Linked DNA regions of Homo sapiens: region 1 is linked to region 2. The links are contacts of gene promoters, found by promoter capture Hi-C in blood cells and fetal thymus (Javierre and others, 2016). All regions are on one chromosome and are shown on one strand. The core of a region is centred on a gene start or on the middle of the fragment in contact, and the rest is flanking DNA. Distances in the headings are between cores, read along the strand shown.

What was found. The method cuts DNA at HindIII sites, captures the fragments that hold promoters and counts their contacts. A CHiCAGO score of 5 or more calls a contact.
Region 1: a fragment that was not itself captured here is called in contact with the fragment with the promoter of KPNA1 in region 2 in 1 of 17 cell types (fetal thymus); the score reaches 5.1 in fetal thymus.

What each region holds. Positions count from the first base shown.
Region 1 is chr3:123,585,960-123,592,811 of GRCh38, forward strand. All of the region lies in intron 2 of MYLK-AS1 (MYLK antisense RNA 1), which reads left to right. Among named protein-coding and RNA genes, the nearest start is that of MYLK-AS1, 3.9 kb to the left of the region's middle. RefSeq lists a silencer at 4,869-5,069. The HindIII fragment of the contact is 1,187 bases long and covers 3,567-4,753 here.
Region 2 is chr3:122,512,793-122,519,180 of GRCh38, forward strand. It overlaps KPNA1 (karyopherin subunit alpha 1), which reads right to left and starts at 2,147. Exons shown (of 14, transcript NM_002264.4): 1 at 1,965-2,147. It overlaps LOC107984000 (a long non-coding RNA gene), which reads left to right and starts at 2,237. Exons shown (of 2, transcript XR_924403.3): 1 at 2,237-2,336; 2 at 4,233-4,566. RefSeq lists a silencer at 1,425-2,114. The HindIII fragment of the contact is 3,104 bases long and covers 1-2,536 here.

The DNA.
Region 1 (6,852 bases), core at 2,910-5,409, 1.1 Mb after region 2:
TTTGTAAACGTCCCCTGCAATTTTTTACACACCCAAGCAGCTCCTTAAATGTATTACTGTATATGTGGTAGTATAAAATATTTATGGGTTCATTCCAGCAAGTGTTTATGGAGCGTCCACAAAGTTGCCCTGGAGTTCATGGCACTAAGTGAAAGAGACAAAGTCGTCAGTCTCCCAGGGATTATATAGAGCAGCGGCCCCCAACCTTTTGGTCAACAGGGACCGGTTTCGTGGTGGGGGGGTGGATGATGGTTTCAGGATGATTCAAAGGCATTACATTTATCATTAGATTCTCATAAGGAGCACACAACTTAGATCCCTCCAATGCGCAGTTCACAATAGGTTCCCCGCTCCTATGAGAATCTGATGCCACCGCTGATCTGAGGGAGGCGGAGCTCAGGAGGTAATGCTCCCTTGCTTGCTGCTCACCTCCTGCTGTGCCTCCTGGTTCCTAACAGGCCAGGGATTGGTTCTATCCGCAGCCTGGGGCTTAAGGACCCCTGAGGGAACCAGACGAAAATGCTCGTATTAGTTGGTGAAAAGTGGTATCAGGAAGTTATTACAATAATCCAGCCATGGTGATAGTGGTGTGGGCCAGAGTGGTGGAAATCGAGGTGATGAAAACAACAATGAATTCTGTGCGTATTTTAGAAGTAGAATTATAAGATTTGTGGATATGTTAGTTTTGGAGTGTGAGGTCAAAGGCGTTTTGAGCAACTTGTAAGAAACCATTTTTAAGGCGGAAGTCGGGAATTTTGTTTTTTATATGTTGAATTTGAAATCCTTATTAAACATCCAAGTGGAGAGGCTGGATAGACAATTAAATTTAGACCCTGAGGTTCGGGAAGGAAGTCCAATGGGCTAGAGATATAAATTTGAGAGTTGTCAACCTAAAATAATAAAAAAGGTAAGAATCTAGTTTAAAGGAAGTTTATTCAAGCATAAAGGTTGAAGATGGCTACCTGGGAGCATAGATTCAAGTTACCCTAAATATACACTCTGATTAGCAGCGGTTATGAGTGGGTTTTTAAAGGAAAAAGAGGCAGCTTCTAAGTTGTTTACTAAGAATTTACATTAAAATTACATTAGCTATTGATTGGCTATAAACTATTCTTTGTATCACAGATTCCAGGAACATGAAGATAATGGGTGAGGCTGCTAGTCAGGAACAAAATGTCTAAACAGTTGCCCCCAGGCAAACTCTTGTCTCTGGGCCTGATAAATTTTTGCATACTTCACATAGCTCAGACAGCTCAGAGCTGTTTGAGGTATTATCTTTTCTCAGAGTTCTGAGGGTGGTGGTGGTATTTAAATCCATGACACTGTAATCACCCAATACGTTCTTCCTTCCCACTGCACAGACAAAATCAATTCATAGAGACCATGGCATTGCAATAAAGAATTTAATTGACATGAGATAGGTCTTGGAGATGGAGTTATTACTCCAAATCTCCCCCAAAATTCAGAGGGTAGGGTTTTTCAAGAATAGTTTGGCTAAGATCTGAGAGCTATAGTCAAAACAAAACAAAACAAAACACCCACCCCCCCCCCAACACACACACAGTTTGGCAGGCAGGAGGCTGGAGGAATGGGTGCTGCTGATTGGTTGGGAATGCAATTATAGGGGTGTGGAAAATGGTCCCCCTGCACTGAGCCTGCTTCTGGGTGGAGGCCACAGGACTGGTTGAGCCAAGAGTCAAAGGTCTCAGTGGGGTCGTCAGCCATCCGAAATGCAGAAGCCTGAAAGTTTATCTCAAAAGGCCAATCTTAGGTTCTACAGTAGTGAACTGGGGAAGCTGCAAATCTAGTGACCTCTGGAATAGTGGCTGGTAATCATTTAACTTAACAAAGCCTATGTCTTAGCAGAATTCAAGCTCCTCTTATCCTTCTAACCTGGTGGCTTTTCATTAGTTTTACAAAAGTGGTTTAGTTTTGGGGAGGGGCTATTATCGCTTAAACTGTAAACTAAGTTTCTCCCAAAGTTAGCTTGGTGCAAGCCCAGGAATGACCAAGGGCAGTTTTGGAGGTTAAAGATGAGAAAGGAAAACCCCAGATTCACTGAGCCAAAGGGAAAAGTCAAGCTGGGAACTGGGTCACACAAACCTGCCTCCCATTTGGTTCCTAAATAAGATAGCTACAAAGATAAAAGCTATATACTTCCCTCACATTTTACCCACAAGGAAATTCCTTTTAGGCCCAAAGATCTTTACTCTAAAACAGTTCTGTTGAATTTCAACCTGGCAATGTAAGTTGATATCTTCACAGGTATGGGACATAGGACAGAATTCAAAGTCTTCCCTCTCCTCACCTGAGACAAATGCATATCTGATTGCTTCCTCTGCCCTATTGTCTACGTTATCTTATGTAAAAATACAGATTAACTGAGCCAGACTAAGGCATGAATATTTCCTCCACTCCCCACTCACATGAAAATTGTGTATTCAAAAGGATGCAACTGTTTTATCTTTTTATCTACTGACACAATTTAAAAATATTTCTTGGCTGGGCGTGGTGGCTCACGCCTGTAATCCCAGCACTTTGGGAGGCCAGGCAGGCAGATCAGGAGGTCAGGAGTTTGAGACCAGCCTGGCCAGTATGGTGAAACCCCATCTTTACTAAAAATACAAAAATTAGCTGGGTGTGGTGGTGCGCGCCTGTAGTCCCAGCTACTTGGGAGACTGAGGCAAGAGAATCGCTTGGAGTTGGAGGTTGCAGTGAGCCGAGATTGCGCCGCTGCACTCCAGCCTGGTGACAGAGCGAGACTCTGTCTCAAAAAAAAAAAAAAATTTCTCTTCCCCCAGTATCCACCCTTTCCCCTTTAAGTACTGAAGCCCTCAAAATCATCTTTGGAGATAGGCATATACCTGCCTCCCTGGCATGCATCCTTTACTATGGCAAATAAACCTCCTAAAATGATTGAGACTTGCCTTGATCGTGTTCTTTGATTTACAGAGTCAAGGTGGGGGCTGGTTAGATCAGATCTCTCTCAGTCATAATTTTCTCACTGTTACAATTTTTGCAAAAGAAGTTTCAAGACCTCAAGAGATGAAGTGAGAGGCATAAGTTGACAATTGTCAGGGTCCCATCCTTTCCCGCCATGGCAGATTGTTCAGAGATTCTGTTGCCTTGTTTTCCTGAAATTTTTTTTTTTTGGAGACGAAGTCTTGCTCTTGTCCCCCAGACTGGAGTGCAATGGCACACTCTTGGCTCACTGCAACCTCCGCCTCCCAGGTTCAAGCAATTCTCCTGCCTCAGCCTTCCAAGTAGCTGGGATTACAGGTGCCTGCCCCCACGCCCAGCTAATTTTTGTATGTTTAGTAGAGACGGGATTTTGCCATGTTGGCCAGGCTGGTTTCGAACTCGTGACCTCAGGTGATCCACCTGCCTCGGCCTCCCAAAATGCTGGGATTATAGGCATGAACCACCACACCCGACCTTCCTGAATTTTTCAAAGAGCAAGTTGGTGAGCCCAAATTGCACACTGTGATCAGAGGGCAAAAAAATTTCTTTGCAAAAGAAATAAAGAAGTGAACCATTTTACAAAACCAAATAATCATTCATCTAAAAGCTTCTTTCATTCATTTGACTGATTTTTTTTTCAATATAATCTACTTAATGGGAAAGTAGGAGGAGGCAGGAATGCATAAAGTTCTGTTCAGTTGGAAATCAGTTTAAAACTCAATGTATCTTCTTGCAGTCACTTAGGCCCAACTCCAGTCTGTTGTTTATAGCAGCAATCTCCAACCTTTTTGGCACCAGGGACTGGTTTCATGGAAGACAATTTTTCCATGGACTGGGGAGGGAATGGTTTCAGGATGAAACTGTTTCACTTCAGATCAGCAGGCATTAGATGGAGCCTGCAACCTAGATCCCTCGCCTGCATGGTTCATGATAGGGCTCGTGTTCCTATGAGAATCTAATGCCGCTGTTGGTCTGGCAGGAGGTGGAGATCAGGTGGTAATGCTCACTTGCCTGCTGCTCACCTCCTGCTGTGTGGCTGGGTTCCTAACAGGCCATGGACCTGTACCAGTCTGTGGCCCAGAGGTTGGGGACCCCTGCTCTACAGTACAGCCAAAGTGATCTTTTCCACATACAACCTTGTTCGTGTCTACTACCTTCCTCTGCCCCACCCCTGAAGATATTTAAATGGCTTTTGATGACACTTAGGATAAAGCATAAAATATTTAATATGGTATACAAAAATCTGCATAGACTAGACCCTACCTGCCTCCTCAGTCTCACCATGCCCCTCCTAGTCATACTGGCCTCATCTTAGGTCTTCCATCGAGCAGTACTCCTTTTTTGCCTCAGGGAATTTGCACATGCTATTCCAATCATACCTTCCCAACAGTACCCCAAAGTCTTAACTCATTTCAGCATTAACTCAAAAGTCCAAGTTCAAAGTCTGATCTGAGACAAGGCAAGTCTCTTTCACCTACAAGCCTGTAAAATCAAAAACAAGTTAGTTACTTCCAAGATACAATGGGGGTACAGGCATTGGGTAAATGTTCTCATTCCACATGGGAGAAATTGGCCAAAACAAAGGGGCCACAGGCCCCATGCAAGTCTGAAACCTGGTTGGGCAGTCATTAAATATTAAACCTCTTAAATACTCTCCTTTGACTCCATGTCTCACATCCAGTGCATGCTGATTGAAGAGGTGAGCTCCTAAGGCTTTGGGCAGCTCTTGCCATGTGGCTCTGCAGGGTACAGTCCCAAAGGCTGCTTTCATGGGCTGGAGTTGAGTGCCTGAAGCTTTTCCAGGTCCAGGGTGCAAGCTGTTGGTGGATCTACCATTCTGGGGTCTGGAGGACAGTGGCCCTATTCTCAGATCCACTAGGTATTGCCCCAGTGGGGACTCTGTGTGGATGCTCCAACCCCACATTTCCCTTTTGCACTGCACTAGTAGGGGTTCTCCATGAGGGCTCCGCCCATGCAGCAGACTTCTGACTGGACATCCAGTCATTTCCATACATCCTCTGAAATCTAGGCATAGGTTTCTAAACCTCAACTCTTGGCTTCTGCACACTTGCAGGCCCAACACCACATAAAAGCTGCCAGGGCTTGGGGCTTGTACCCTCTGAAGCAATGGCCCAAGCTGTACCTTGGCCCCTTTTAGCCATGAGGTGGAGTGGCTGGGACACAGGGCACCATGTCTTGAGGCTGCACACAGCAGTAGAGCCCTGGGCCTGCCTAGCCCAGGAAACTATTTTTCCCTCCTAGGCCTCTAGGTCTGTGATGGGAGGGGCTGTCCTGAAGATCTCTGAAATTCCCTGGAGACATTTTTCCCCATTGTCTCAGCTATTAACATTCAGCTCCTTGTTACTTGTGCAAATTCCTGCAGCCTGCTTGAATATCTCCCTGGAAAATGGGTCTTTGTTTTCTACTGCATGGTCAGGCTGCAAATTTTCCAAACTTTTATGCTCTGCTTCCCTTTTAAACATAAGTTCCAATTTCAGATCATCTCCTTGTGAACGCATGTGACCGTTTGCTTTCAGAAAAAGCCATGTGACATCTTGAATGCTTTGGTGCTTCGAAGTTTATTCTACCAGATACCCTAAATCATCTGTCTCAAGTTTAAAGTTCCACAGATCTCTAAGGCAGGGGCAAAATGCTGTCAGTCTCTTTGCTAAAGCATAGCAAGAGTGACCTTTGCTCCAGTTCCCAATAAGTTCTTCGTCTCCATCTAAGACCATCTCAGCCTGGACTTCATTGTCCATATCACTATCAGCATTTTGGTCAAAATCATTCAACAATTCTCTAGGAAGTTCCCAACTTTCCCACATCTTCCCCATGTCTTCTTCTGAGCCCTCCAAACTGTTCTGACCTCTGCTGTTACCCAGTTCCACACTTGCTTCAACATATTGAGGTATCTTTATAGCAGTGCCCCACTCCCAGTACCAATCTTCTGTATTAGTCCATTTTCACACTTCGATAAAGAACTACCTGAGACTGGGTAATTTATAAAGAAAAGATGTTTAATTGACTCACAGTTCTGCATAGCTTGGGAGGCCTCAGGAAATTTACAATCATGGTTGATACAATTACGCTGTGTTTCCACCCACATCTCATCTTGAATTTTAGTTCCCATAATCCCCATGTGTTGTAGGAGGGACCCAGTGGGAGGTAATTGAATCGTGGATGCGGTTACCTCTATGCTGTTCTTGGGATAGTGAGTGAGACTCACAAGCTCTGATGGTTTTATAAGCATCTGGCACTTCCCCTGCTGCCATGTGAAGAAGGATATGTTGGCTTCCCTTTCCACCATGATTGTAAGTTTCCTGAGGCCTCCCCAGCCATGCAGAACTGTGTCAACTAAACCTCTTTCCTTTATAAATTACCTAGTCTCAGATATTTCTTCATAGCAGTGTGAGAAGGGACTAATACAATGGTGGACAGCAAAGGAGAAGCAAGCACCTTCTCCACAAGGCAGCAGGAGAGAGAGAGAGAGAGCAAAGAAGGAACTGCCAAACACTTATAAACATCAGACCTCGTGAGAACTCACTATCACTAGAACAGCATGAGGGAAACCATCCCCATGATCCAATCACCTCCCACCAGTCCCTCCCTCAACACGTGATGATTACAATTTGAGATGAGATTTGGTTGGAGACACACAGCTAAACCGTATCACTCCTTTTTTGCATTTATAATTTTTAAAATATCACTTATTCTTCCCCCTCTACTTACTGGAATTTGTACATCTTGCTTCTCTTCTTTTACTGGTTACCATAGAAATTACAGCATGGATCATTAACTCATTAAAGTCTAATATTAATCAGTACTTTATCATCTTCCTAAACAATACATAAACCTTTCAAATCTGTCTGGTCATTTTTAATAATCCCTTGT
Region 2 (6,388 bases), core at 897-3,396:
TTATTCTAGGTTTTCATAAATGTATGTTTTGTTGCCCTACAGGACTGTAAACTCCTCAAGGCTTATGTTGTCTGCTTCCATTTGAACTGCCTTTACTATTTAGTAGAGTGCTTTACAGTTGCTACTCAACTATAATAACTGACAAAATGTTATGCAGTCAATATTTGTAATATTAGCTTTCCCTGCTACACTATAAATTCCATGAGAACAGGGACAGTGAGTTTTGATCGCGACTATATCCCCCCAAGTCTAGAAGATCACTCTGTAAGTATTCGCTGATTGAACGGATTAAATAAAGAAAACAACGAAAAAGTATGAAAGGAGAGAAATAATTTAAATGGCAGTAACTTTGGGTTCTAAGGTTGTTCTCAACAAGAACTGGAAGACCTTAGGTAAGTTACTTAACATTTGATTGTCAATGCTTTCATCTGTAAAATAGAAAAATTAACAGATACTTCAGATTCAAATGTTTTTAATATATGTAAAGCATTTAACACAATACCTGAAAAAAGAACTCAATAAATGTTAATTCCTTTACTTTCTCTTACGTCTCATCTATCCATAAAACAGTGTCTTCCAAGAATATTTCAGTAAAAATACAACAGAACTCATTCTTACTTTCCTTTGAAAAATTAAATTTTCATCTCTTTGATCTTTAAAAAGGAGGGAAAAATAACTTGTGTACTGCTTTCAAAATATTACAAATGCAAAAGCTAGTTAAGACAAAAACAATGTCGAGAATGAGCCTTGCTGGTGGCATCCGCCTGTAGTTCCAGCTAGTAGGGAGGATGCCTTGAGGCCAGGAGTTCCAGATCAGCCCGGGAAACAAAGCAAGACTCCATCTCTTAAGAAAAAAAAAAACAAAACAGGAGGGGGGAAATCACTTCATCTACTAATAGAGATTTTTAAGCAACCGTTTATTTAAGAAAAAAGGGTGAAATTCAAGTTAATATTACTTGACAGTACGTTTCAGAAAAAAAAATACTCTGCAGAGCTGGGTGTGGTTGCCCAAGACTAGTCCCAGCTACTTGGGAAGCTGAGGCAAGAGGACAGTTTGAGCTCAGGAGTTGGAGTACAGCCTGGGCAATATAGCGAGACCCCATCTCTTTAAAATACAAACAAAAACTCGGCAATCGTTTGTTCTGAGTTGAAACCTTAAAAATCAAATATTTTGAACGCTTTCATTTAAAAGTGGAACACGACCCAATCCTAAAACATTACTTCATGACGACTTCCTTGACTCCAGTCATCCTTGTTTCCTCCTCCCGTTTTGAGCTTAATCCGATACCTCGCTGCTTCCCTCGCATCGCACACGCGGCGTGCAGACCAAGTTCTGTCATTGCTATAATTACCACACCCCCGATCAGCCGCTCCAGGCCCATGTTGTTATGACATCGGTAAACTGCAGCCGGCCGTCTCCACCCCCCGCTTCCCCCACCTCCCTCCGGGCCGCCGGCTCCGACCCGGTCTGTAACTTGTGAATTCCCAAGACGGTCCCTTTTTGCCAGGGTTAGAATTTTTACACGCCACCCCTGCTCCTTCCTGCCTCTGTCACAGCGCTCTGCGCGGCCCACCCCCGCCTCCCGCCCGCCGCCCGGCCGCGGCGCAGGCTCCGCGCTCGCCTCCTCTCCGCCCGCTGCCTCGGCGCCCCGCAGTCCCCGGCGCCGCTTACAGCCCCGCCGCCGCGCCACGCCGCCCCGCCCCGCCTAGCCTCGACCGGCGTTCCCGATGGCGATCACACCAGGGCTCCCCACCCCCACCCTCTCCTCCGCCGGCCTTGTGGCCGTTAGGACAGCCGGGCCCGTGACGCACGGACGCGGCGCGAGCGTCCGGCCCAGGAACCCCGGCTCTAGGCCCTGCCGGCACCCGCCCTCGCCCCAGGGCCTCTCCTGAGTCCCTCCGGGACTGCCCGGATCTGCCGGCGGGAGGGGGAGGGGCCGGGGCCGCAAGGCCCCAGCACTCACCAGGCTCAAGGCAACCGATCCCGGTGCCACCGCTGAAGTTAGCCCCTCGCTCGCCCGCCCGCCGTGCCACTCCCGCGCACAACCTCGAAGAGCTGGCCCGCGCCTCGGCGGTGCTCACCAGGCCTCGCTCTCCGCCGCCTCGCACCGAGCAGCGAGACTCAGCTCAGCCGGCGTTCGCAGTGCGCCTGCGTGCGGGGGCCGGCCCGAGCGCCTACGCGCGCCCCTCCGGCGCTTGTCGCAGAGGCTGCCGGGAGACGTAGTCTTGTAACGCTCTCTCGCCGGACATTCCTAATGGTTAGCGCCCAGCCTGTGAAGAGTCGGGGGTCGGGGAGGGGGTCTCGCTAAGAAGGAGGTTTGCAGACCATGGCAAAGGTTGGAGAAAGTTATATGTACAAACCTGTCTTTGCTAAGCTCTTCCAGGGCGGATCGATGCTCACCTCTGTATAGCTTCTAAGTACCTAATACGCGTTGATGGAATGAATGATGGAATGATTGAAGGCTGAGGGAGTATTACAAAATTAGTAGGTCAGCGCCTCGTGTCTAAAGGGCTCACATGCAGCATGAATGCAGGAAGCTTCTGGACATTCCTTTTTTAGTTATCTCCCATCCCCTTTGCTTGATAACGTATGCGTAGTATCAAAAATAATTAAGGGCCGGGCGCGGTGGCTCACACCTGTAATCCCAGCACCTTGGGAGGCCGAGGTGGGTGGATCACTTGAGGCTAGGAGTTTTGAGACTAGCCTGGGCAACATGGCGAAACCCCGTCTCTACTAAAAACACAAAAATTAGCAGGGGGTGGTGACGGGCGCCTGAAGTCCCAGCTACTCGGGAGGCTGAGGTGGGAGAATCACCTGAGCCCGGGGTTGACGGTGAGACTGCAGTGAGCCGAGATCGCGCCACTACACTCCAGCCTGGGCAACCGGAGTGAGACCCTGCCTCAAAAATAATAATAACAATAATAATAATAATAATAATGAAACTACATGAAACACATACTCGTTTTACTCTCAACTGCTCTCAAACGAAAACTTGGAGCAAATGATTGCTAATGTTAAATTTCATGGAATTCTTTGGGGGAGCAAATGGAGTAGTGGCTTCAAAAGAAGAAAAACTGAAGCCAGCCTAGCAGGGATCACGGAATAGTAGACAGATTTAAAACACATGCCAAGAAGCAAGGTGAAAGAGATGAGGTAGATTAATACATTTATAAATGTCCCAGGGAAGAGGAGAGGAGAGAGGACCACTCTACCTGAATCCTAGGTTATGCAATGTTCATTTGTCCTGGACTTCTCTCTGCTGCATCAGCATTCTCCCGCTGATGTTGTGTTTACTAAGATCAGAGTTGAGTTTGAGCAAGGGGGCTGGGGAAAGGGAAGGTGTGTTCAACAGGAGAGACTTAAGGGCAAGTTTGCCTGACCACAGCTAGACTGAAGACAGATCACCTTATTCCAATAAGGAACTAAGACTGATTATTCAGAGCCGGTCTTCAGTCTTTGGGAAAGCTAATTTATTTCCGGTTCACCCTTATTCCTAGCTAGTCCTTGATGGTCCCATCCAAAAGTCTGGGGTATTTACTAGGGCCTCTTCTCTTTGGTGGGCCTTCTAAGCCCCATGAGACAGCCATAAGCTCTTCTCCCTGTTTCAGCCACTGCTTTCAGAGTCAGCAATCACCTTAGCTTTGGAAAAATGATGGCAAATATCAGGCTAACCTCTGGTGGCTTCCTTTTTCTTCCAGACCTTGCACTCACAAATTCTCACTTCCTTGGTAGCTCTTCAGTACATTAACGTTTTTATATTTTGTTCAGTTGTTCTCTGTAGTGGAAAGGTTGATTGAAAACAACAGTAGGCCATTGCTGGAAGTTGAATTCCTATGTATGTTACTTTTACAAAAATGTTATCATACCATACATGGTGTTTTATAAGCTACTGTCTCTCTGACAATATCATTTTATAGTTTGAGAAATTTGAAAGTATAGAACAGTATTTTTTACTGTCACAAACAATGCTGCTGTGAACATTCTTGTACATCTCTACTGTGTATAGGGAAACTGCTAGATCCTAGGACATTGCATCTTTAACCTTACTATATGTATCAGGCAGAAATCTAAGATGGCCCCCATAATCTCTGGTCCCTGGTGTTGCCTATATAATCTCCACCCCTTGAGTGTAGGTGGGACCTTTGACTTACTTCTAGCCAACAGAATATGGCAAAGGTGATAGAATGTCACTCCCATGATTCCGTTTCATTATATAAGACTGTCTTTCCAGACTGGAGCTAGAGATTCGCTGGCCTTGAAGAAGCAAGCTGTCATGTTGCGAACTGCCTATGGAGAAAACTAAATGGCAGGGAACTGCAGACGGCTTCTAGAACTTGAGCGCAGCCTGCAGCTGACAACCAGTAAGAAGCCAGGGCCCTCAGTCACACAACCACAAGGAAATGAATTCTGCCAACAACCTGAGAGGTGGCCTCCAGATGAGAAGACAGCCTGACTTAAACCTTGATAGCAGTTTTGTGAGACCCTGAGCAAAGAAAACAGATAAACTGTGCGTAGACTCCTGGTCTACAGAAACTGTGAGATAATAAATGTGTCTTAAGATACTATGTTTATGGTAATTTATTATACAATAGAAAACTAATACACTAGACATTGCTGGATTATTTCATAAAGTGATTGTACCAATTTGTACTCTAGAAACGGTATATAAGATACTCTTCACTTGCTAACAGTTAGAAATGTCTGGCTTTTTAAATTTTTGCCAATCTAACATATAAATTACTTGAACATAAAAACATGAAAAATAGATATTTACTTAGAATTATGCATTCTGTTGTATTTCTTTTCTGTTGCATAAATGCAATTAAATAAAATAGCAGGCTGGGAACAGTGGCTCATGCCTGTAATCCCAGCACTTTGGGAGGCTGAGGCAGGAGGATCACTTGAACCCAGGAGTTCCAGACCAGCCTGGGCAACATAGCAAGACCCCCATCTCAACACACAAAAAAATTAGTCGGGCATGGTGAGTCGCACCTGTAATCCCAGCTATTCAGGAGACTGAGGTGGGAGGATCACTTGAGACCAGGAGTCTGAGCACACCACTGCACTTCAGCGTGGGTGGCAGAGCAAGATATTGTCTCAAAAAAAAAAAAAAAAAAGCAACTAGTAGTAATAAATAGAGAGACTAATTAAGCAAATAATATGTATGAGAAAAATGCAACAATTTCATAAGGTTTCTTTCTTTCCTCTGGTATAGCAATTTAGCTCTATTGCATATTTGAATTTTGTAGGCTATATCATCCTATATTCTTGAGATAAATAAGTGTAAGAATTTTTTAAAGAATGTATACAATAGAACTAATGAGATAGATATTACCTATATTAAATAAAAAATAATGACATATTTCTTTCTGTCCCATGATAGCTTGAGATATTTTTATTCTTTCTGTTTCCTTTTCCATTAGTACTTTTCTGAACTACTTGGGATCTTTAGGACGTTTTTCTTTTCTTTTGTGTGATAGTAAAACTGAATACAGTCAAACATAAAACTAATTTTGACTTGCAGCTTTGCTCCTCTGCCTACATTACACTGCTTCTGTTGTCAAAGTAAAAACATAAAGCTAAATATTCTATAAACAAAATTGTTGGAGCACAAAATACTTAGGATTTTATTTACTAGCACAGCACATTTTTAAACTTGTAGGAATTCGTTTCCAGCTCTCCGAAAGGTCCATCCACTTTGTATATTCAGGTAAACCTGCTGTTTGTCTATCAGTCATGTCCTGTGCATCTATAAATTAACCATGTAGGCTTTCCATATGTGAAATGACTATCATTTTTAAACACTCTGAAGCACATTGGATGTCATCCTCAGTTAAACCTCATTTCCCCAGAGAAAATGGTTTATGCACTTCTAACTCTTCAGCAAAACAACAACAAAAAAATTGAGCTTATAAAATTGAAGTTAGATTTCAAGTAAGTTTACAGCTGTAGTAAAGAAATCCAGAAAGTTCTGTTTAATTTGCCTTTTTCTGGATACTTTTTTTAAAAGTTCTGAAACAATCTTATTTCCAGAAAGTTGACCTATTTTTCTTGGTTGGAGTTTTTATTGCAACCTACACATAACATTGAACAACTCAAGTCAGTGAGTTTATCCTTGTAGTCTCCTTATGGCCTCTTAGAGGATTATCAGACAGTTTCAGAGAACCAGCAGGTTTATTTCTGTTTTATTATAAACCTTCTCTCCATTCTCATCTTCGGTGTATTTACAAATTGAAGCAGACCATGCTGTTTTGTTCCACACTCAGATATTTTATGGCAAGCCAACATTTTAACATCTTTTCTGTGGCCAGCTTCAGTGATAGCCACCTTATAGACACATGTTTAAGGAAGCTATCTCCTTCCATTTCTATAAAGTCAAAAATTTCA